Linked DNA regions of Homo sapiens: all the other regions are linked to region 4. The links are contacts of gene promoters, found by promoter capture Hi-C in blood cells and fetal thymus (Javierre and others, 2016). All regions are on one chromosome and are shown on one strand. The core of a region is centred on a gene start or on the middle of the fragment in contact, and the rest is flanking DNA. Distances in the headings are between cores, read along the strand shown.

Evidence for each region. The method cuts DNA at HindIII sites, captures the fragments that hold promoters and counts their contacts. A CHiCAGO score of 5 or more calls a contact.
Region 1: a contact is called between a fragment that was not itself captured here and the fragment with the promoter of FMN1 in region 4, in 2 of 17 cell types (M0 macrophages and M1 macrophages). The highest score is 6.6, in M0 macrophages.
Region 2: a contact is called between a fragment that was not itself captured here and the fragment with the promoter of FMN1 in region 4, in 1 of 17 cell types (monocytes). The highest score is 7.0, in monocytes.
Region 3: a fragment that was not itself captured here is called in contact with the fragment with the promoter of FMN1 in region 4 in 3 of 17 cell types (endothelial precursors, erythroblasts and activated CD4 T cells); the score reaches 9.5 in endothelial precursors.

The regions. Positions count from the first base shown.
Region 1 is chr15:32,703,884-32,709,851 of GRCh38, forward strand. No RefSeq gene overlaps it. Among named protein-coding and RNA genes, the nearest start is that of GREM1, 11 kb to the right of the region's middle. The HindIII fragment of the contact is 3,162 bases long and covers 1,867-5,028 here.
Region 2 is chr15:32,909,052-32,915,051 of GRCh38, forward strand. FMN1 (formin 1) reads right to left here. Exons shown (of 21, transcript NM_001277313.2): 11 at 1,423-1,484. Among named protein-coding and RNA genes, the nearest start is that of GREM1-AS1, 190 kb to the left of the region's middle. The HindIII fragment of the contact is 1,802 bases long and covers 1,288-3,089 here.
Region 3 is chr15:33,695,191-33,700,940 of GRCh38, forward strand. RYR3 (ryanodine receptor 3) reads left to right here. Exons shown (of 104, transcript NM_001036.6): 39 at 1,028-1,301; 40 at 2,692-2,806; 41 at 4,514-4,643. Among named protein-coding and RNA genes, the nearest start is that of CHRM5, 270 kb to the right of the region's middle. The HindIII fragment of the contact is 617 bases long and covers 2,388-3,004 here.
Region 4 is chr15:33,191,329-33,197,125 of GRCh38, forward strand. FMN1 (formin 1) reads right to left here and starts at 3,386. Exons shown (of 21, transcript NM_001277313.2): 1 at 3,250-3,386; 2 at 2,581-2,732. It overlaps LOC105370759 (a long non-coding RNA gene), which reads left to right and starts at 3,583. Exons shown (of 3, transcript XR_932090.3): 1 at 3,583-4,247. RefSeq lists silencers at 3,365-3,704, 3,479-3,688. The HindIII fragment of the contact is 5,074 bases long and covers 489-5,562 here.

The DNA.
Region 1 (5,968 bases), core at 2,198-4,697, 490 kb before region 4:
TGTCTTCCACAAAAATAGTCCCTGGTGCCAAAAACGCTGAAGACCACTGATCTATATTTTCCATATAGGGATAGCCAAAACCCAGGTAAGCTGAAGCTCTATGAAAATTCAAAGTAGAGCCCAGCTGTCCTGATCTCAGTTTTACCATCAATTTACTATCTTATAATAGCTCCAAAGGAGAAAAGTGAAAAACCGTAGAATTTTAGAGATCATTTTTTCCCGCCTTCCTGGTTGATAAAGTAAGAAATAGTGCTTGAAAGAAGATGAATAATCGCAGCACAGACGTAAACCAAACTCAAGCTTTATCATTAGGATTGACATAGGAACCATCCCCATGACATAGACCCCAAAAGTACAATGGTATGAATGAAAAAGGTGACAGCGGAGGCTGATCTTTATCATTTTTCACTATGCTTGGCTTTTTTGTTATTGTTGATTTTTGAGTTGGAATGTGAGCTTATTTATCCTCCACAGCTTTTGGAAGATTTCAGCCTGGCTCATCCTACGTTAGAGTGTCTGACAGGGGAATAACGCGTGGTATTTAGATGGCACCAGTTATCCAAGAAGGTCAAATTTCTTTGCAATTAGTCTGTCGTACTCCAGAAAGCCCTGAGAGATGAGACGTTGGGGTATGAGAGAGGGAGTTATCTTCATTTAACAGCAGATAGACTTAGGAAGCGGCAGGGGCCAATGAAAAAGCAGGAACGAGAATGGAAAATGTCCCAACACTATCTCCCTTCCCCCACCAACAACCCAGGAAAAATTTTCCAAATCACTTTCTACATATGCCTTGACTGTTGATTCATCAAAGATGTCTTCAATAGATTCACAACTCAAACCACATTGTGGTATTTAAGTAAAGGGGAGCATTGAAAATGTGAATATAGTATTTCTTCTATTTTTGCAAATGGATGTGTTTGATACCAAACACTGTCAGCAGCTAATACTATTACTATGTTTGCTAATATGCTCAGATCAGCTGGGCACACAACCAAAACCCATAACATTCCTGAGTGAAGTATGATCAGATGCTCCCAAATGCAATTTGCCTTCTTCCCTCGCATCGTAAGAGAAAAGGCTTTTGTTGGATATGTTTTGTGAACACCAAAGAGAGTAAATAGCTTTTTGAAGAAGCCAAAGTGTTTTCCTCCTGATTCATTGTGAATGCCTGCAAGAGTGTTTCCTTTTAAGTTAAAACAATTTACGAATTCTTCCTACTAAATCAATCTACATATTTTTATCACTGCTATTTTTAATAAGTAACTTTTCTTTCTGAAAATTTATTTCACTTTGCCCCAACCTTTCTGTGATTCTTGGGAGACAAGAAACAGAGTTCATGTAAAACACTCTTGTTTATGATGGATGAAACCACAAACTTTGTGTGATGTTAACCCACTCACAGAAGGAGAATCTGAACTTCAGAGTATTTTGTGTTTGGAGAGAAGGCTCACTAAGGGAAATGGGCTCACTTCAATTCAATATATTATAGGAAGGAAAGGATCAAGGAAGAGCTGGTCTTAAAACTGTCAAAATATAAGAATTTGATGGGAAGAAAGAAGGAAAACAGAGCAGTTGGAAATGCAAAGATAAAAGAACTGGATCCAGACATGTCTATGTAATTTCCCAGGAATGGAAATTGTACTGGCAATTTGGAAAGAGATATCGAAAAACAATATACATTAAATGTTGAGCTTTTCTTGCAGCAATGCACTTGGAAGGCTCTTAGAACACATGGCATAATGGTATTATGATTCATCTACATATGGCCTGATCCTTGGTGACTGATGAAAGGGGAAACCAAGTTTCATAAGGAATCAAACACAGAAGAGGAAGCTAAACACTTTTTTAGAGAAAAAAACTCTTTTAAGCTTCTAGGTCATCAGCAGAGTATTAACTAACGCAGCCTACTAAATTTGCATTGGGATAGATCACATATGTAATTTCCTTTAATTCTTCAATAACCCTGTGACATAGGCATCATTTTCTCTGTTTCCTGATAGCCCAAGAGTTGCCATCTCTAAAGTTGCTTAGGTAGTTGGTGGTTGAGCTTAGATGCAAACAGAATTCTTTCCACCACACCAGTGATTGTCAAACCTGGCTGCTTATCAGAATCATCTGGAGAGCTTTGTAAAAATACAGATTCTTGGCCCAGGAAATTCTGATTCAGTAGTCTAGAGCAAGCTCTGGGGATCAATTTTTTGTTTTGTTTTGTTTCTCCAGTGACTCTGATACACAGTGAATTTGGGGAAACATTGCACACAATTGCAACCAGAAATGGTGTGAGAATGGGTGAATACAAAAGCCCCGGAGGGAAGGTTGTAGAACACAGGGACTCCACTGCTCTACGAGAAGCCTGCTAAACTACACCCAGCCATAAATAGTCTCACAAAAATCTACCAGATCTGAAAAACATGCTTCGACTTCACCTGAATTTATTTCTAAGGCCCCAGACATTCCTAATCAGCCCATCTCCTCCCAGATGGCTCTGCAAACCATTCCTATCGTTTGGAATTATGTTTTCAGAAGCCTCACAACCATGATAAAATGCTGTTGCCATAAGCATTTTCCTATCTCCTCAAGATGAATTAGATGAGCTACTTAGTCCTTCATCAATAAATTGTAAAGGGAGAGGCATTTGGAACTATGGATGCCCTTCAAATGTACTTGGCTAGTTACTTGCCTCTGTTTCCAAAAAGATTAAAACGTAAAAGAAATAAGTGGCAAAACGTGCATCATTCCTGGCCACATACCCAAATATTCTTTCTCTTATCCAATATGACTTTTTCCTTTGCATGCTTTTTCACCAGGCTAAGAAAACTAAAATATCTTTCTACAACAAATCCTTAAGGTTTCCCAGAAACACAAAGTAATGGTGCATTATTTATTTCTTAGGAAATTTTACCATGTTATTTTTAGCAGAGTGCATGTTACCCTGACACAGGCCATAAAACTTACTCACTTCTTTGGGGTCTGAGGAATGTCATCTTGTGACTGGTTTTACAGGGAGAACTTATCGGGGTGCAGTTGCAGTTTCCAGAGTGAGTCAGTGCCATCATTGCCTCCGCTGTTATTCAGTGGGTGGGGCACCTGGAGCACAGGAATGTGCTCTCTGATTCCACGACAAAACTAAGGACTGAGGCTCCCCTAGGCTCAGTTGTAGATTTTGAGGCTCTTGAGTTTCAGTTCTCCAATGAGTTCCAGGTAAAATGCAGAAACCAGGCCAGGCACCAATGGCTCATGCCTGTAATCCCAGCACTTTGGGAGGCCAAGATGAGTGGATCTCTTGCCCCCAGGAGTTCGAGACCAGCCTGGGCAACATGGTGAGACCCCATCTCTACGAAAAATACAAAAATTAGTGTGTGCCTATAGTCCCAGCTACTTGGGAGGCTGAAGTGGGCGGGTCATTTGAGCCTAGGAGGTCAAGGGTACAGTGAGCTGTGATCTCACCACTGCACGCCAGCCTGCTGGGTGAGAGTAAGAGCCTGTCTCAAAAAAAAAAAAAAAAAAAAAATGAAGGAGGAGAAATCAGAAACAGAAGCAAGGCAAAAAGGGGGCTAGAGCAAGGGTTATAACAGGAAGGAAAATAAGAACAGCTGCACTTTTAATCTATTCATTCAACAAAGGTCTGGGAGCATCTATGTACTCCAAGTGCCATGTAGAGGCCGGGGATTCAGTGAGCCACACAAAGACGGTTCTTGCCCCCACAGAGCTTACAGGCACGCGGAGGAAACAGACAAAAACCAAGCAAATCTACAAATTGCATAATTTAAAAATTTGGTAAGAGCCAGGAAGAAAGGGCGTTAGTCAAAGGAAGGACATGGCTTAGTATATAAGTTAAGAAATGTCCAGGCTGGGCACAGTGGCTCACACCTGTAATCCAGCACTTTGAGAGGCCGAGGAGGGTGGATCCCAAGGTCAAGAGATTGAGACCATCTTGGCCCACATGGTGAAATCCCATCTCTACTAATAATACAAAAAAATTAGCCGGGTGTGGTGGCACACGCCTGTAATCCCAGCTACTCGGGAGGCTGAGGCAGGAGAATCACTTGAACCTGGGAGGTAGAGGTTACAGAGAGCTGAGGTTGCGCCACTGCACTCCAGCCTGGTGACAGAGCAAGACTCCATCTAAAAAACAAAACAAAACAAAACAAACAAAAAAGCAAAAAACAAAAAAGAAGAAGTGTCCAGTGGCTTTGGGTCAGCATCGGTGAAAGTGGGGAGAGCAATAAAGAAGCAATTGCAACCTTTTAGGTGAGAAATGACCGTGACCTGGACTTGGGGATGGGCCGCGAAGAGTCAGGATGGACTCAAGACAGCTACTGGACTGCCACTGGCCGCGACACTTTGGAGAAACTCTAGCAGTTAGTTCTTCCGACACAGTTCCTACAGGTGACGGGATAAAAATAGAAGACAGCAGGGGAAATGATGAGGAGACCTGGAGCACTTTAGTTACGATTCAACTCAGCCTGTGCTAGGGCCACAGGGACTCAAAGAGGAGGAAGGAGACACTTTCTCCATGCAAGGAGTCTACATTTCATTGAAGAAGATGTGTCCAGCATACATGTAACTACAATAAAGGAAAAATATGACAAGAATAATAGAAAAGGCAGAAGGCTCTGAGAAGGAGGCTTGAGGTCAGAGTAGGAATTCAACCAGAAGAGAGAAGGGTGGGAACTTCTGAGGGGAGGGAGGAGCAAGAGCAAACGTGTGAACATGGTGGTCTGTGGTATGTGCTCAGCTCCTGCTGGGCTCAAATGTTGCATGTGCACAGAGAACATTAGCTGGAGACCATCAGGCTGGCACTGAACACCAGGGGCAGGAGTGGATGCTTGCTACTCAGCTGTGCACTCCTCTCATGTTCTTTTCTACATGTGTGCAATTGAATGTCTGTGTTATATGTGCGTATTAAAAGCGAACTCTCACCTTGAAATTCTTCTTAGTGGCAAGATTCTTTTCTCTAGATTGACAGTGCAGAGCTCACATAGTAATCACTGCTGTTAAAATAGATATTTAGGACTATAGAGTTAAAGCTTAAATACCATTTAAGGGAAGCTGCTGTTATCTGAAATAATTTGTCTTTCTTATTGAAAAGAACCAATACCCTCCCTCCCTCTTTCCCTCCTTCCCTCCCTTCCTTCCCTTTTTTCTTTCTTCCTTCGTTGGAAGAGTGGAAACATAACGAGGGGTTCTGGCTAGTGTCCTGAGGTGTTGGCTAGGTAAACTTTCTGGAGTTGCTCGTGCCAAGAGACCAGCACATACATTTCTCTAGGGGAAGTACATCCTAATTATTCCACAGACATCCATGGATCACTCTGGCTAGCAGAGTAGCACTGCAAAAATCATTACGATTTTTTTTTTTCAGAAAGTTGTTCTACTTTGGCTTAATGTCCACATGACCAAGAATCACACTTTACAGTCTTTAAGGGCCTATCCCATGCTCAGCCACTTTCCTACAAAATCGTGGCGACGTGGAAAGGCAGATATGTGCACCTGGGAGCTTCTAAGATCCTGTCTGCTCTGGCTGATGCAGTGACCAGAGTCACCAGAAACCCTCTGCTCCATCTGGGAGACCCAAGAGAGATCATCTGGAAGCTGGTATCTGGGGACACACTGCTACATTGTCCAGTCCAAAGTCCATCAGCTTTGTTTTCTTTCTCTGTCACACGAACAAGTAAAACAGAGTGTAGAAACAAACACTGCAGGCAAGGTTACCTAGTCTCCTTGAAAAGGTTTCCTTCCTACTGGCTAACTTTCAACCTAAGGGAAAATGCAGCTCGATGCTCAACTGGTAGATTTTCTTTCACATTTTATTATACATGTGCATATAAAGGAATTTCTCTTACTATTGGTTTCTTCCTTCTCTGATCCTCTCTCCAAAGGCACCACATTTCTCCAGAGAGTGTGTCCCAAATGCCTCATGTCTACGGAGTTCTTTGCAAACATTAATAGACAAATGGTTAGTTTATAT
Region 2 (6,000 bases), core at 939-3,438, 280 kb before region 4:
TGTACCACTTATTTTGGCATTGAGTCACTTACTTTCTCAATTTATCCAACTATTTCAGTTGAATGAAGCTTATCTCTACTGTGAGCTAACAAGCGGCAACCATGTGCTTAGTCCTGAGCTCATGGTAACAACACAAAGCATCTGGAAGGTACTGCCTTTGACAAAGTTCTTTAACATGAACCACTGTATCCTCATTTTACAGATTATTCCACTGAGGCTTGTACTAAGCAACTGTTAAAGAGCTTCAGACTTGGAACTCCCTCTTTCTGCCTCTATACCTTGCTGACCTCCAAGTATTCAAGTGCATAATTAGCTCCCAATGGCCTGGTATTTGTGTACTTTCTGGTTTATTAACGAAAGCTTTACTAGTGGAAACGTGAGAAGTTCCGACCCACTTGTACTAAGTAGCTCCTGATACATATAAAGATGTGAAAATGAGCAAGGAATTGGTGATGCCACCAAGCCTAGACTATTAGACTATGGAAATCTTCTGTAAGAAACTTAAGGTCCCAGGGGACATAAATATGAAACGAATCATCTTTTGAACTGGTGACCACAGTACACTATAGAGCCCTAGACAGCTTCCTGGGAAATACCATTACTTAAGAGAATGTGGTTCAATCTATGTTTTTGTAGCCTAACAGTCAGTGAACCAAAACAATGAACAATCATGGGAATTCTGACTCTCCTGTGTTGTCTTCTCAAGAGAGCCTGACAATTCTGCTGGTTATGTCCACTTAAAACCCAAATCAAAAACCTTATATGTGTACAGTCCTGTTGACTTTCAAAATACATTGCTACTGCTACATATATTAAATCCTCATTTGACTAAAAAAAAAAAATCAGAGCCTACTATAATCCCCGCTATACTGATGATCACAACGGGATTAAGAAGTTTAAGTAACTAGCCCAAGGTCACTTAGCAGGCAATGGTAGACACAGCTGGACCTCAAACCTAAGACTGTCTCATTCTAAATCCAAAACACATACCTACCATTCTACACACCTTCCCACATTCAATATCATCAACTCATTTGGACTAAGAGTAATCATCCAAGCTGGTATTAGCAGTCCCATTCTTCAGAAGTAGACACCAGTGCACGCTATCATTTCAGTAGGCAGCTTACCTTCATTCACTTGGCCAGCAAGTGACAGGACTGGGTTCCAGGGCACGTAAATGGTGTCCACCTGAGATGCCCTGCCTTGCAAGTGTGCAATGAGATCTGCTAGCCCAGATACCACAGTGGGAGTCAGGAATCTAGTGCTTCTCACATCCACTCCCATTCAAGCTTGTGTTTCTATGCCTTAATCTCTTCCAGGCCACGTCAAAACCCTTACTACCAAAGAACATGAACAGCTCAGTCATTTCTCAGGTAGAAGATAAATATGGAAATACTAGCTCTGTAAGTCTTTGACACTCACGTTTTCATATAAGGCTGCCAGGGTCTCCAGATCAACCACGGAGTCATCCACATTGAAAATGGCTGCCAAGCACCCAAAAAGAAAAGAGGATAAGGGATTTGATTAGGTCCCCTGCACCAATGTTTACTCCACATCCAGCTTCCAAGCAATTAACAGAGTATTGCGTTTTCTTACACAAGCTGTGCCTCTCTGCTCCCCTTCCTTTCGCACCAGGGGTCTCAAATGAAAGAAACCAAAATGGTTCCTATCATTGGCCTGAGCCTTGGCTCTGCCTTGTTTAATTCCTCAGGCTCTGAGTCCTTTCTGCAGTTTAATTTAGGCTCCACAGGAGAAGTGTTTGTGCTTTAAAACTAAATCAGTTTGTAGGTTTGAAGCACAATTTTAAATCTTTCTTCCCGATGGTAATTGAAGAGATTTAGTACCTAATGCACCAGAACTGACTCTTGCCCATTACCAGAAAGAAAGAGAGAAAAAAGACAATGTTGGCAAATTAAATGAATTCAGGCATGTGATTTCAGGCACCTTTCCGTGGCCACTGCCAACATCTTGTTTGGATTAAAAAGACAAGAAAAAACAATAATTGCATCAATAGCAAATTAAGATTATGGAAACCTCCCATGAGCCAGTCTTCAGGCAGGCTCTCATTCCCATGGCTTTATTAGGATTCTACTTGTTCTGTATTATTTAAGATTAATTTAGCCGTTAACTAATATGCTTATGATTTCATCTAGAGAGGTACCTTCCCATAGATACTGGGATGCAAAAATTGAGACTTAAAATCCTTAATGGATTTGGCTATCGAAGTGTTTGAAATAAGCAGGTCCACATCTTTAAATAATTATTCAAAACTAATAAGGTTTGTTCCCTCAACCCTACCTCCCTTCCCTGACTTTACATTGTGAAATTAACCAGCACGCTAGTAAATTTTCTCCGTGGCAGGCTAATTAATTTTATTAAACCAACCAGTGATACTTAGAATGCCTTAAAATTTTGCTCGTCAACTATTTATTCTGTTCATTTGCATTACACCATGGTTTTTGGGAAGGTGGGGACCAAGGTAAGGGGCAGGTTGTTTTTGAGGTATTTTGCTTCTTCTGTGGTTTAGAATCACATGAACCCTTTCATACAATTTTAACAAAGCTAAAATTAACTGAGCTAAGATCATGGAACCTCACAGAACAGCAAGAAATGTACTTAAAATTCCTTTGCAGGCCACCTTCTCAAACTTAGGGGTTAATCAGCAAGCTATTCCTAGATACATGGAACAGAGAGAAAAGAGGAGGTTAATATGCTAGAGTCAAAGTAAGTCACCTCAGATTCCACCAAGACAAAGGAACATCACACATCCACAAAGGCCAATGTGAAACCAGTAAAGAAAAATGCAGTTTAAGGACAGAAAGAAAGGATTTGTCCTCTCAAGACTGTTATTTTGTGTGTGGAGATCACATAAATCCACTAATTTGTCAGACACAACAGGCATTTTTAAATGTCTAGTGCGTTGAAAACCAAAATAGCCAGAAACAATGTCTATTTTATGTAAATCTCAGTATTCTCTCACAAAAATCAACCAACATGAGCGCATAAGAAAAGGTCAAATTCTAAACAATAATCTACCAAAAATGTTTACATGTTAACTAATCATGCATCCTGGGTAACTATATATTACAAGCTTAGATATAATCAAATAATCTTAACTAATGAGAAAGAGAATGACCTGTGAGTTTCTTTTCCTAGTAAGTAAATACTCAGTTTTTAAAAGTTAATCAGTCTGGGGCCCAGGCACACAGTTCCTCAGATGGTATTGTCAGCTGTGCCCCTTCCAGTGTGTTCAGTAGCAGAAAAATAACACCCAGAGAGGTTGGGACTGAGAACAACCATGGGCTCTGAAGACATGGATTCATTCATTCCTCCATCCAGCCCTTGAATAAGTATTTGTTGGATGTGTACAGGATCTGTTCTAAATACTGTGGATTTTTAAGTTAGAAGTGCAAAGTACTTAATTAATCTCATGAAATTTATATCCCAGTCTGGGGACAGAAAATAAACAAGTAAATACATAATTTCAGATAACAATTTACTATGAAGAAAGTAAAACAGAGAAATGTACAACATTAGACAGAAGGCTCAAGGAAGGCTTCTTTGGGAGGTGACATTTAAGAGAAGACCTGCAGAGATCAGTTTTGTGGCTATCTTGGAGAATAACGTCCCAGGGAGAGGTAACTGCAAAGACAAGTTTCTTTTTCTGAAGGAACACATTCAAGGTATAGAAAAAAAAAAATCAAGGTGACTATCATGGACAGAGCAAAATTTACTCATTGTGTGATCCTGACATGTTAAATTTTCTGAGCTTCAGCATATCTATAAAACAGCTCTAATACCACTTAGTGAAAATATTAAGTGAGGTAAGATATATGCTTAGCATAGCACGTAGAACATGGTATAAGCCCAAAATGGTATATATGAGCTATTACTATCATGATTTCAAATATATACATTGTAAATGTGTTTTAATGCTTGTTAATGCCTTATCCCCTTTAACATCTGGAAAGAGTTAGAGAAAGAAAACTACAACTACTGAGTGATTTGTGCTGTAAATGCAACCTTCCCGAATTCTTAGGTGTTTCTGATCGCGGTTACTAGGAAACCCTTCCAGTCCTTTAAAACCCCACTCAAGACCCAACTTCAGAAAGCATTATTAACAGGAAAGGTCTATGACACAGAACTCTAATTACAAAAAATAATGGATCAAGTGTCTTAAGGGAAATGCCAGGTACCTCCAAGTCTGTATTATCATATTTTTATCTATAATTTCAATATTTCTCATCAATCCATCCTTCATTGTACCAAGGTTACTTTTTAAAAACATGGATTTCAAAATTTTACTGTGATGCTTAACATACCTCCAATATCTTCCTTTAAACACTCGGCGAAGTCTAAACTCCTTGGCCTGGTTGTTAAGCTCATTCCCTGCCTCGCCTCAATTACACTTCCAAACTCATCTCCTACCATGTTCTCCATGCACCATGGGTTCCAGTCACCCTGTGTCCTTCCCCATTCCTGAACATGCCATGGCTTCCTCCCTTTCTTCATCTCTCCATGGCACAGAGGTCAAAGCCCTGGAAGGACATCCTTTGACCCTCACATCATTAAGTCCTCAATCTTTTCCTCTGCCATGGTACCTCTCTCATATTTTACATAAGGTGAAGATGGTATACTTTAAGAATCTGTGGTATGTTGCATAACTGTTTCCTTCTCCCAGTAGACTGTGAAAGCCTTGCAGTCAGCAGTTGATTTCTTAAGCATCTTGATAACTGTCTCCCAGCATGGTACCAGGGGTGTAGCATGTATAACATAGATGTTTGTGGGTATAATTATACCATACGACTCCTGAAGACTGAGTCCTGCTGATGGGAGGAAAAGCTTCTTGACAAAGAGAACATAGGGTCTTAAAAAGAAACCAGAGAGCCTCTAAAGGGGCACAGCCTTATAAGGCATGTATCTGAATCATGGTTGTTTGCTTCTTCCCAATTTGACCCTGTCCAAAAATCAAGGTTTGGCCAGCAGTTACATAATTGTGCCCCCAACTCACACACTCGGTGTAGATTATACCGCTTGCCTGAATACTCCCTAACAAAAATAATTAACTTCAAAGATGAGTTTTCTCATTATTAGGGAATGAATAAGGAAAATATCTTTCCTTATTCAAAAAAGTTTTAAATAGCTGTATCTCCTTAGGAAAAATGTTGAGTAAAAGTTCAACTATTATATTGCTTTAGGCAGACACTGAAAACACTAATCTATTAATCACCAATAATTAAGCTAAATTCATCCATGCAATGACAATTTGTAAGTATGCAATACGTGCCAGTGAACGTAAACTGGAAGGATACAAAACATTCCAGCTAGAAGCAGCAGATAATAGGCTCACAAAATGTTTAGGCAATGGCAGGTAGTTCAATTTTGGTTTGAAGAGAGACTTAATTAAAGGGACTAGAAAGATACACTCCAAACATAGTTTGGGGTAAAACCTTGTAGAATTTTGAATGCCACGATGAACCTGTAATACACTTGTTATACAGGAGAGAGCTGTTGAGCAGTTATGAATGGAGGAGTAAATTGGACAAAATTATATTACACACACAAAAAGTCAAAATTTGAAAAGACTAATTTAGAATCTATTGTAATGGGCAAGAGGTAGCAAAAACTTGAATAGTGTGGACAGAAAGGATAGGGCAAAAAAGAAAGACACTACAGAGCACTATTATAGTGACATTGCTAACTAGCTCTGGGGACTTAGCCTGAAACCACTCTGAGGCTTTGAGCCTAGGTTTAGGGGAAGAGCTTTGTACCATCCCCCCAGAAACAGGCAGAGGAGTCTAAGAGGTGAGCATGACTACTGATCTGTCCCCCAGGGACTGGGAAAGGAATGGAGTAGAGAGGAAAGGACAGGTAAAAGAAGTAGATAAACAGATGAACTTAGGGCCAATGCCAAGTATTCCACTGAAGTTTCTCCTCTTCCACGGAAGGATCTTAAAAATAAAATCTAAAAAGTAAAAGAAAATTCAGAGGTAGCAGAAG
Region 3 (5,750 bases), core at 1,446-3,945, 500 kb after region 4:
TGCATTTGTGATTTAAGAGCAGCATGTCTCACCTCTGTCATCTTCTGGAAGTGTGGATGGTAAGGGAAGGGGTAAGCAGTGCCTTCCCGGCCATTCCAACAGGTCCCCTTCCTCCTTTACCTCCTATGCCAATGCCAATCAGCAATTTTCAGGGGCTTTTTAGTATAACCTCTGAAGGTTCCACAGCTGTTTTGAGTCCCAGTTCAGTGATCTTTCCTTTACTTGTATAGACAGTAAAATTTCCGTAAAACCAGTATGAGCCCCAATAAATTCTGAATTCAAAGTCACTGTGGTTTTTTTCTCTTGATGCTTATGAGAGGAGTCCAAGATGCAGTGTCAGCTGACTCTTGCCAAAGATCCAGTGCAAAAAAAGGCTGTTCAGACTTTAGGATGATGCTCAGATGTCCCGTTGTAAAGCCTTTAGATCTGTTCTCTCAGCCCAGTGTGGATGCAAGTATTGTTTAATCAAAATAGAATAGTTAGCACCCTCAACTCATAATTGGGATATTCTTTTATTGTTATATAGCCGGTTTATTTGTCTTTTGATGATATATTCTACTTCTGTGCATGTCATAACCCACCCTTAAAATACAAAAAAAAAATTTTTTTTTTTGAGACAGAGTCTCACTCTGTTGCCCAGGCTGCAGTGCAGTGATGCAGTGGTGGCTTACCGCACCCTCAACCTCCAAGGCTCAAGCAGTCCTCCCACCTCAGCCTCCCAAGCAGCTGACTACAGGCGTGTGCAACCACACCCAGCTTTTTTTTTTTTTTTTTTTTTTTTTTTGGTAGCAACAGGGTCTCGCTTTGTGGCCCAGGCTGGTCTCAAACTGCTAGGCTCAAGAAATCCTTCAGCCTCAGCCTCCCAAATTGCTAGGATTATAGGCATGAGCCACTGCACATTGCCTATAATAAGAATTTTGTAACCTCAACCAATGATGTGTCTTCTATTTGCATGAAGTGGCTGAAACACCCAGCTCTCCCTGAGCCATGACAGCCACAGTCCTGCTCCCTCCTGTTGTCCTTCCAGCAACATTGAAGGAACTCATCTCACAGACGATGATCTGCTGGGCCCAGGAGGACCAGATCCAGGATTCAGAGCTGGTCCGAATGATGTTCAACCTCCTCCGGAGGCAGTATGACAGCATTGGGGAGCTGCTGCAGGCGCTGCGGAAGACCTACACCATCAGCCACACCTCTGTAAGCGACACCATCAACCTGCTGGCTGCCCTGGGCCAAATCCGCTCCCTCCTCAGTGTCAGGATGGGCAAGGAAGAGGAGTTGCTCATGATCAATGGGCTGGGGTAGGTGATTCACGGTTACGTGCTGTTCTCTCTAGGAGCTTTAAGTGGGAAAACTGACTTACCTTGATATAGAGATATAGTGGAATCAAATCATATTAAATCTTTGTGTGAACTGATTCCAATTTCACTCCTCATGGAGTCATATCCTTTGCAACCTGAGAGACCCAACTACTCACAGTGAAAGGCATTGCTAAAAGTATGGAGGAGTCTTGGGGAAAAGCAGTTACTTGATTTTAATCTTTTGAAAATAGCCCCAGGGAGCCCATGAAAACATCTGGAGGAAGGGACGGTGTGTTCAACCCAAGACAGAAATGATCTGAGCACCTGAGCTTTTGACTCGAAATCTTCCGAAACTTCCCTCTGAAAAATTGCCACCTGATCTCTCCCTTTTCTCAGGACTAACCTAGAGTCGTTTTTGTTAGTTCATTGAGATAACTTTCCCCTTAACAGTAGCTCATGGCTCTCCCTTAGAAGCCATGTAGTCAAAAAAAATTCATAGCATTTTAGACATCAAAAGGGTTTCCTATAATCACGTAGGGTAGCACTTCTGTTTTGCAGATGAGAACACCAAGGCCCAAAAAGATTCACTAACCAGCCTACAGTTTTACTTTATTAGAATCAAGAACTAGACCTACAGACAACCTCCTACCTAACTTTTCATCCTACCACCCTTGAGCCAGCATACCAAAGGAGCATCACCAAGGTGCAGGAAAGGGACCTTCAGGATCCTTGGAGGGAAATGCACTCATTCGTCAAACTCATTTCCAAAGAGAAATCTTACATAAATGAAGCGACTTTTATGGGAAGACAATACAGTTAGATAATTATTCTCTCCCCAGCCTTCGTAGTAGACATAGCAGAAGTAAAAACTGGCAATTGGAGGTGGTGTTTCCTGCAACCCTCAAGAGAAGGGGAATGGGCAGCCAGAAAGTAACCACCCAGCAAGGGAGTACACAGCAAATTACCAGGCTGTTTCTGTATTTTGATTTGCATGCAGCTTTACTCTGTGAATTTATATTGGATGACTTAAAGATGTAATTGTTCTTACATCTTAATGTCGTGAGTTTTTAAAGACTATTGTCCAAAAGCTTCATTGATATCTAAAATTATTACAAGAAAAAATAAAACAAGGGATGTTTAATAGGTCATCAGAAAGAAATGTTTCAAAGAGAAAAAGCAAGTACTTAGAAATAGAGGAGCACAGAATATTTCAGTCAGCTAAAATGGCCCTCCACATATATTCCAGCTGAACTAGTGCTTTCTTATTATCTTTTCAGCCTGTTACTTTCATATTATTTTGCCCTCTCGTGTGTTTGTGTGTTCTCATCCCTGAATTTTCATAGCATATAAATAAGCAGGTGCTGAAGACTCTCTCTGATCCTTATCCTAGAGACATAATGAACAACAAGGTGTTTTACCAGCATCCCAACCTCATGAGAGTCCTGGGCATGCACGAGACGGTGATGGAGGTGATGGTGAACGTGTTGGGTACAGAGAAATCTCAGGTAATGCTAAAAGGAGAACCTAGCCAGAACTTGTCCCTTGAGGCAGGAGCACGAGGTGACTTGTTCAGAGCCACGTGGCTGGTGTCCCTTGCCTCAGTTTCTCTTCCAGGGAGAGGAAGGGATAGGCACAGTGCCAAGAAGGAGCCAAGCGATGGGATAATGCTGCTGGACGGAATCCCATTGTGTAAGAGCTCTTGAAGCTTGGAGACTTTCTTCATTAATCCCACTGGGCTATTCAGTTGCTAAGTTTACTTCCCGTATTCGGCAGCCCTGCTCTTTCCAAGATGGAATCACTCACTTCCACTTAGGAGCCTGGTGTGTTTTGTGCTGAGTCAGGAGAAGGCTGTTCTAAAGGAGAACAAGATCTCAATAGTGATCCTGGCAGTGTTTCCCCAGAAGTGTTGATGTTTCCTCTGTCAACCGAACTCCTGAAGAAGCCAGGTTTCCTTGCCAGCTCCCTCATAAGGAGCCCGCATCAGGGGGAGCTCCTGTTGCTAAGGGGAGAGTTGTGGGGATAGGACACAACTGGACATTTATCCCAGCTGGGCTGGGGACCTCCTCACGGTTAAACTGCTTCCACAGGCAGTAGATCGGGTATGGCTTCAAATGTTGGAAATTCCAGAGTGCCAGGGTCCTAGGAAGGGATGATTTCTGGTGCAGTTTCATCAGTGCTACTGGGGAGGGGGTGGGTGTGTAGAAGGAACAGAAGCCAGGGTCACGTTCCTCATGGGCTTCCTTCTGATCTCTTGGGAAAGTGAAATCTCTCCAGAAGATCCCTGAGCACATGTCTGGATGCCTCAGCGAGCAGATAGACTACAAGTTTCTGAACCTTATTGCTTAGAGCATCCTCTGTGATATTAAAGGAGGAAATCAAGGTTGTCTTAGGATCCCGAGCAAGGTTAACACTGGCACCATTTATTGAGCACTGTAGGATCAAAACTAAGATTTGGCCCAACCTAGAGATGCTGGTTACTTTGTTAAGTAGAAAAGCCAAGTACAATCAACAGTAATGTAAGATGGCATCTTCATGCTAGACTGCATGAATCAAATTACAAGTGCTATGGAATCCCATAGAAGAGCAATTATCAATGACAAAAGTAGTCAGGGAAGACTCAGAGAGCGATGCCTTTCAGACTTGCGTAACTGTAGAGGCCAGCCTTGACCCAGGGCACTTGGGCTTTGATATACTGGTGGGCCTTATGTGTCTACGATCACCTGTGTCTGTCTGTCTGTCTGTCTGTCTCTCTCTCTCTCTCTCCCCCCCTTTCTCTCTCTCCCCCCTCCTCACTCTCTCCTCTTTCTCTCCTCACTCTTTCCTCACTTTCTCTCCTCACTTTCTCTCCTCTCTGTCTCTCCTCTCTCTCTCATCTCACTCACTCTCTCTCCTCTCTCTCTCTCTCATCTCTCTCTGTCTCTGAATTCTGTCCACTCCCTTCCTACTTGGAAACAATAGCCTGGTAGAAGGTCATGCAATTTCACATGACTTCCGAGGATGATTGGGATTCTTGTTTGACATCTATTTCTCTTGGAGGAAAGATATTTCAGGAACTATAACTCCTATGAATAAGTCTTGAGAAAAAAAATGGAAGGAGAAAGTTCATTTTTCCAAGTGTTCACACTTTACCCACTTAAGACTCTGAGGTCAGAGTTTTCAGAAAGGCCTCATGATAGATTCTTTTGTCTGACACTTTCTACTTCTCCCTACAGATTGCATTTCCAAAGATGGTTGCTAGCTGCTGCCGTTTCCTTTGCTATTTCTGTCGAATTAGCCGGCAAAATCAGAAGGCCATGTTTGAGCATCTGAGTTATCTTCTGGAGAATAGCAGTGTTGGCCTAGGTGCGTAAGTCTTCTTGTAACTTCCACATCCAAACTCGAAGGTTACACTCCCCCTTTTGACCACTTAGGAAAATACAGGGAAAGGAGCCACATGCACGCTGTGATATTTGTAAATACTAGAAGAGACTCTGCCTGATTTAAAACAATTGAAGTAACGATGCCACAAGAACGTTCTCCAACAGAAGTAGAGATGTTGCTACCAGCCAAGATTGGTGACAGTTTAGTGTTGGCATAGTCGTACAGTTTTACCTCATCTCTCTTGGGACCAGTGGCCCATGGTTTACAAAATGCCCCTGGGATTGCAGGTATAGTCTGGGGGCACAGCTCTTCCCAGCCCACTCAACTGACCAGGGAGCAGTGCTGATGAGACCAAGGTCATGGATCGGATCTCGTCTTGGCAGGCTGGCTGCAGGCTGCATACCTGTCCATCAACCTCCCAGCAAGTGCTTTCCTTAGCGGGGAGGCAGACTGGCCAAGAGCAATCGTGGATAAACAGTGTAAATCCACCACTACCACTAGAAAAGCAAGTCACTGCATATGCCTTACTCACTGTTCTGGGTATAAACGAAATGAATGTGTGTAATACACAAATACTTGCACTTGAAAACTGAAGTTTCACGGGTTTTTATTTCTCAAATGCAACCTCAGGCTACTAACCTTTTTGTAAAATGCCACCTGAAGTTTTTCTTAATTCTAGCCTGAGAACCAAACAAACAAGTCAAAAACAACATTGGTGACCTGGTGAAACTATATGAGCTAATGCTGTTTGATGCTATTTTTAAACTCTAGGTGGTAGCCCCAGAAATATACAGGTTCCACTGGGCTTAGTTGGTCGAGTGGCATCTGATATGGGGGCCTCAAGAAGTTTTGTGTTAGAAAAGCACTTGGAAATACATGGTCCCGGTTGGTAGTGTGAACCGATTTTGTATTAATTCGTATTCACGGCAATGAATGTGGGGAGGAAGGATAGCTAATAGAGCTGTTCTTAATGCAAGCGGACTGTCCCATTGGAGAACGGTCATGTAAGCCAGGTTTCAGTGTGTTTGCTGCCCTCTCCTGTCCGCTTACGTGCACTGCAGTCTCAGCTCAGCACTGAGTGTCTTCCTC
Region 4 (5,797 bases), core at 2,136-4,635:
TGGAACATAAAACAAGTCAGTATCAAGTTAAGGAAATAGGAGGTGTGTTGGTTAAAGAAAAAAAAACTTAACTAGTAGTCTGCTTCCTAGAGAGATGCATTACAGAGATCATGGTCATTTCAGGCCAGTGGGGAGGTAAGGATGTCCACAAGGAGGACCAACTCTCTTCTCTCTCCCTCATCCTCAAACATGCACTAAGGCAGTATTTGCTGAAAGCGTAGATAAGCACAGAAATCCAGGTTACTCTGGGAGATTGTTTACTTTTAGCCAGGGAACTTGAGAAACATAAGTGAGAGGGAATGCTCCATTTCTCAGACCCTTGCTTTTATGCGCTGACAAGGTAAAGAGGTTTGTTTCCTTCTTTACATCTCCCCGCTTTAGTAATTACTATTTTGCAGAGCATGGGGTTGATGCTTTGTCAGCACTTCAGCACAGACACTAAATACAGAGATGCTTCAGTTCCTTCACAGTGCCAGCCTGTTGGTGCAAGCTTATATTTGCTGCAGGAGAATACAATTCCCATGGTTTAGCGTCTCTGCAAGATCAGGCAAATCAGATTAACAGCTGTAATTCTGTCAACACAGGCTGGGACCTGTTGAGAATTAAGCTGATATTTAAGACAGAGACTATGTACATCTAAAAATAATAGCTACTCTTAAAACCAGGTCCCAAAAAGAGATTATGAATAGCCCCTAAACGTGGTCATACTACCAACCAGTAGCATCACTGCAAGATATGAAATATCCATTATGAACTTTTACACTGATACGAATAAAGTTTTAATAAGAAAACCATTAAAGGCAAGATCATCTAAAGCACACCACAGCTTGGGATGGTGTGCATGAATCCAAAACTTTAACGTAAAACTAGACTTTGAGGCATGGTATATGAGATAGGAGAGAAGCATTTCTCAATTTTCTATCAAGGATATTTACCATCATCACATCAAGTTCCAGTCTGTCCCCATTCCTCTTCCTCTGGGAACAGCTCCACCAATTTTATGTCTGGAAAGGGAGGATGACCAGGATATGAGACCTACCCTTAGACAATCATAGGTCCTATGGGACCCCATTCCCTTGGCCAAAGCATTTGGTCTAGGCAGGGTTAAGCCTGTGACAAAGGCTTCATCAATCACAGTCAATGCATTGAACACTCAGTGAGAAAGAAGCAGTCTAGAATAGGGCCAGAGGCCTGGAAATCTTCTCTAAAGCTGCATCTTTAACGTATCTCAACTAAGAATCGGCTAAGTACTTGTGAAGGCTGGTGAGAGAAATGCCTGTCCAAACACAGGTGGCTTCAATAGTGGCACCCCTCTAAGATGTAGTGCTATAAGGAACCTGAAGACTACCATACCCCATTTGCATCAGCTCTGACACCTAAAAAGGATAAAGACAATGGAAAAAAATGCATAATTTTTAGGAACGAGACTGGCCTTTATTATCCTTCTTGACTAGTATTATTAATAGCAGTTACTATAAATTCCCCACTTATGTGCCAGAAACTACTGAGTATTTTACCTATATTATCTCGTTTAATCCTCACACCTTCTCCTAAGAGACAGGTAGTATTATCCCTATTTTACAGACGAGAAATTAAAATTAAAGAGGCAAGCAACTTGCAAAAATCACTGAGCTAGTCAGTGGCTGGTCCAGGATTTGAACCTATGTCTGACAGGTTTATGAGTTTAGCCATTACAATATACTGTCTCACTACTCTTCTCCATTGTTTCCCTCCATTGAGGCCATTGCTTCTTTGTTCCTGCAATATGTCTAACTATTCATTGGTCCTGCTCCTGGACTGTAACACAGTTGAGAGAAAGGAGACTAGTGTTTAGATATCTGATCAAGAAGACCCGAGACCTCATTGATTCATTGTGGAAGCAACATCTTCCACAACGACAGTTAATCTGGTATGCAATTCTCAGCTATACTGTTTTCCCTCCCAAAAAAGGGTTAATAAGTCTGTGATCCAAGAGATTTGCAGTAAGCCCTAGAAACAGCTAAGCAACGGCTGTTGAATCCCATTGGTGTGCCTATAAGATGCTACCTGGTGTAGAGAACAGAATATAATTCTCTCTCCTAGGAATTTAGATGCGCCCCTCCGCCCCCCTGCCAATACACACGCAAGGGGGCATAGCAGATGATGGCACATGTCCCATATGCAAACATGAATAGTAAACATGCTTTAGTACAGCTGGAGCTACTGTAGCAGAAAGTCAGGTTGTCTGCTACTCCACCTGGTCTTCTTAAAGGATTGGGTCTGGACATTCACCTCTCAGTGACTGCCACTCCCCATATATATCACAGGTTCAGGCTCTGCATTCAGCCCATTCGGAGTGTGTGAGTGCTAACATGGAACTCTCCAGGAGACAGCAAGCAGAAATGTGGATGATTAAAATAAAGGGTTTTCTTTGGCAATCTCAATTGCAAATGAGGATAAGGAAAATCCTCCCAGCTCACACTCTGCTCCCAGCTACTTGTTCTTGAGTTAAATGAGGGCTTGGCTCTGGCCTCAGGGGGCAAGAGCACTGTTCGTTATTTGGTGGTGGGGGAGGGGGTTGGGGGATCCGTCAGCACTTACATGCCTTTAGAGAATCTGCCTTTACAGAACTTGAAGAGCTCTGATGGAGGAACAGAGATGCTGTGGTGGTAGTGGCCTTGGAGGTGGTGGTAGTGGCAATGGTGATGATGATGATGATGAAAGAAGAAGAAAACGGTGATGGTAAATGTCATCTATAAACACAAGCAAAAAGCAGCAACAGATACCTTTCTAGTCATTGCCAACCATAGTCATGAAGCTGCTTCTGTTCCCAATGCAATCCCATTGTGGTGCTCCCCCTCTGCGCTAAACACATCCAGCTTCAAAAAAAAAAAAAAAAAAAAAAAAAAGCTCTGCATCTCTCCGTCCCCCGCCCTCCCGCCCTCCCGCCCTCCACCTTTCCTGTGCCAAGCTGGGAATGAGACTGCACTGGCGGGTCAAGGGGGCTGGGACCTGAGAGTCAACGACAGGAGTTCTGTAGTGAGGAGCGTTGGGATGACCCGGAGGGCCCACCAACGTACTTGGGAGCAGCTTGGTGGGGGAGCTGGAGGAACCGACACAGAAGGGGAGGAAGATAAGCTGGCGGGGTAAATAGACTTGATGCCTCATTCCAAGAACCCTGAAAGCCACGGGGGAAGGCGGAGCAGGCAGCCTTTGGTCGGGAAGAAGAGACGGGCAGATGGCCAGCAGAACAGACAAGACTCTCTTTACCTGACCAATACTCGGGAGGCTGGTCCCGAGTCCCAGCTACTCGGGAGGCTGAGGCAGGAGGATTGCTTACGGCAACAGCCGTGGCGGCTGCAGCCTCGAAGGATGCTGCGCTCCAGTCCAGAGCCAAAGCCCAAAGGGGCAGCTGCGCCGACCTCCACCGAGGCTCCGCCCCACAGGCCACAGGCCCCGCCTTCCTAGCACGCGCCGGCCTGACGAGCTGTTTGGGGGAGGTGAGCAGTAAACTGATCGGCAGGGCTGAAGACCAGTGGAAACGTGCAGCGGCGCCCGAGGTGGCAGGGGAGGCGGGGCGGGAGGCGGCGGTGCCCAATCAGCAGCCGAGCCGTTGGGCCAGGCTGGGAAGCAGTGCTGTCTTTTGGCACCGTCTGATCCGGGCTGAGGGATTGAAGGCGGTGGTCGCTAAGCTAGGTCTAAGACGGACAGCCAGGGCGACAACCAGTCTCTCGCTACGTGTCCCCAGCTTCCCTGTTTCCGAGCGCCTCTCAAGGCGCACGCTCTGGACTTGTTCAGATGGGGGAAGGGAACTGGTCTGGAACTCCCCACTATTCCCGAGGTTCCCACGCCTCCAGATCCGGAGAGGCCGTTTCGCTCCAGTGGCCTGGCCCCCCTGCCCCCTCAGCCTAGCCGTTCTTGATCGTAAGTGCTAAAAGGAACAAAGAAGGAGAATTCAAGAATCCACACATAAGCCCAAACCCTGACAGGAGCCTTTTCCTCTCCCATCTCCTGCCTACGCTTCCTCCTAGTAGCTTTTTAACTGCTGGCGGTTAAGTTACTTTGACTGGTTTGAATTAAACGCAAAATAGGTTTAGGCTGAGAAATGGGCCAGACCCTTGGCGATCTGAGAAAGAAAGACTGAGTCCGGATGTCAAGAGGCCTGGGCCTCACGAGGGAGTTTGTCTGCTTATTTGAACACCTCAGAGTTGAAGATCTTGTTACTGCTATTTCTGTGCTGGTGAATCAGTACAGACCTTGATGCCAAGGTACTGTTTTGTCCCCAAGTGTCTAATCATTACTGAAATGAACTACCTTCAAACCTTTCCTAAGAGGATTTGAGGCCTTAATGTCGTTGAGATTTGGAATGTGATTTGAGTGACACTGAGATCTTTTCCAAGTAGGTAGGCAAGAAAAGGCATTGTCTTTAATCTGCTTTTGGATAAATGCGAACTGTATCACCCATTTGGTACTTGAAGATAGAATTTTGTCCTGAATAGATTCTGTTTTCAAATAAGTAAATGGGAAAAAAATTTGGAAGGTATTTTTAAGGTGATTTTTTTCACTATTTTTTTTCTAGAAATAATAGTTTATTGGAACTCTGATTTATTCTTAATCACAATATTAGCCAAACACTGATAGGCCCTTTATTTATTTGTTTTTTTAACACACGGTCTCACTCTGTCACCCAGGCTGGGGTGCAGTGGTGCGATCTTGGCTCACTGCAGCCTCAACCCCGTGGGCTAAAGCCATCCTCCCAACTCAGCCTCCAAAGTACCTGGGACTACAGGCGGGCACCACCATGTCCAGCTAATTTTTTAATTTTTTATTTGTAGGGACAGGGTTTCACCATATTGCCCAAGCTGGTCTCAAACTCCTAAGCTCAAGCGATCTTCCCTTCTCAGCCTCCCAAAATGCCGAGATTACAGTTGTGAAGTGCTGTGCCCGGCTCCATAGGCACTTCATATACATTATCTCCTTCAATCCTCATATCTTCCCCTTGTAAATTCCACTTATAGATAAGAAAACTGAGGTTCCCAAAGTTCAAGTAATTGTCCTTGGGTCATGTTCGTAGTTAGGAGTAGAGTCAATACGAGGTCCGTATATCTCCTGTCTAAAAATCATCATCATCAGTTAGAAGAATAAGAAGCCCTCAGTACGACTCTTAATTCCTTGATGCTTTTTTCTTTTTACCTGAAAATTGTCATATAGGGATCCAGTTTTCACACTACTGACTTCTTGAAACCGCAGCCTCAGAAGCACCTTTAAGAGTGAAGTGTCACCTCTGACATGTGTTAGGAGCAATTGCAAGTCAACTTTGCTCATAGAAGGGAGCTGTGATTTCCTATTGTTGGGAAGGAAGTAAAATTTTGCAGGGCTTAAGTCAAACTAGGTTTTAATTGATGTAGAAATCTTTTAAAGTCCACCCACAAAATAATATCATGGTCGTGTGAGCTGAGTCCTAGAAAGGTAAAAGGATGTTAATCCAAAGTCATATTCCAGCATTGTTTCAACAGTGTTCTGAAGAAATTCCTAAATCCTACTCTGGCCTTTAATCAAACCTGGAAATATGTACTTGCTCTAAGCTTGGTAGGGGGAGGGAGTAGGAGGTGTTTTAAAGAGAAAGGAGAAGAAAAATATTTTCCCAAAGAGGCTATTAATAAAGACAAAATATAAATAAGTTAAAGGTTATAGATCAATACAAAGGTATACACTAATTAACAAGTTAGTGGAGTTTTGTTTTGTTTTGTTTTGTTTTGTTTTGTTTTGTTTTGTTTGAGACAATTTCACTCTGTCACCCAGGCTGGAGTACACTGGT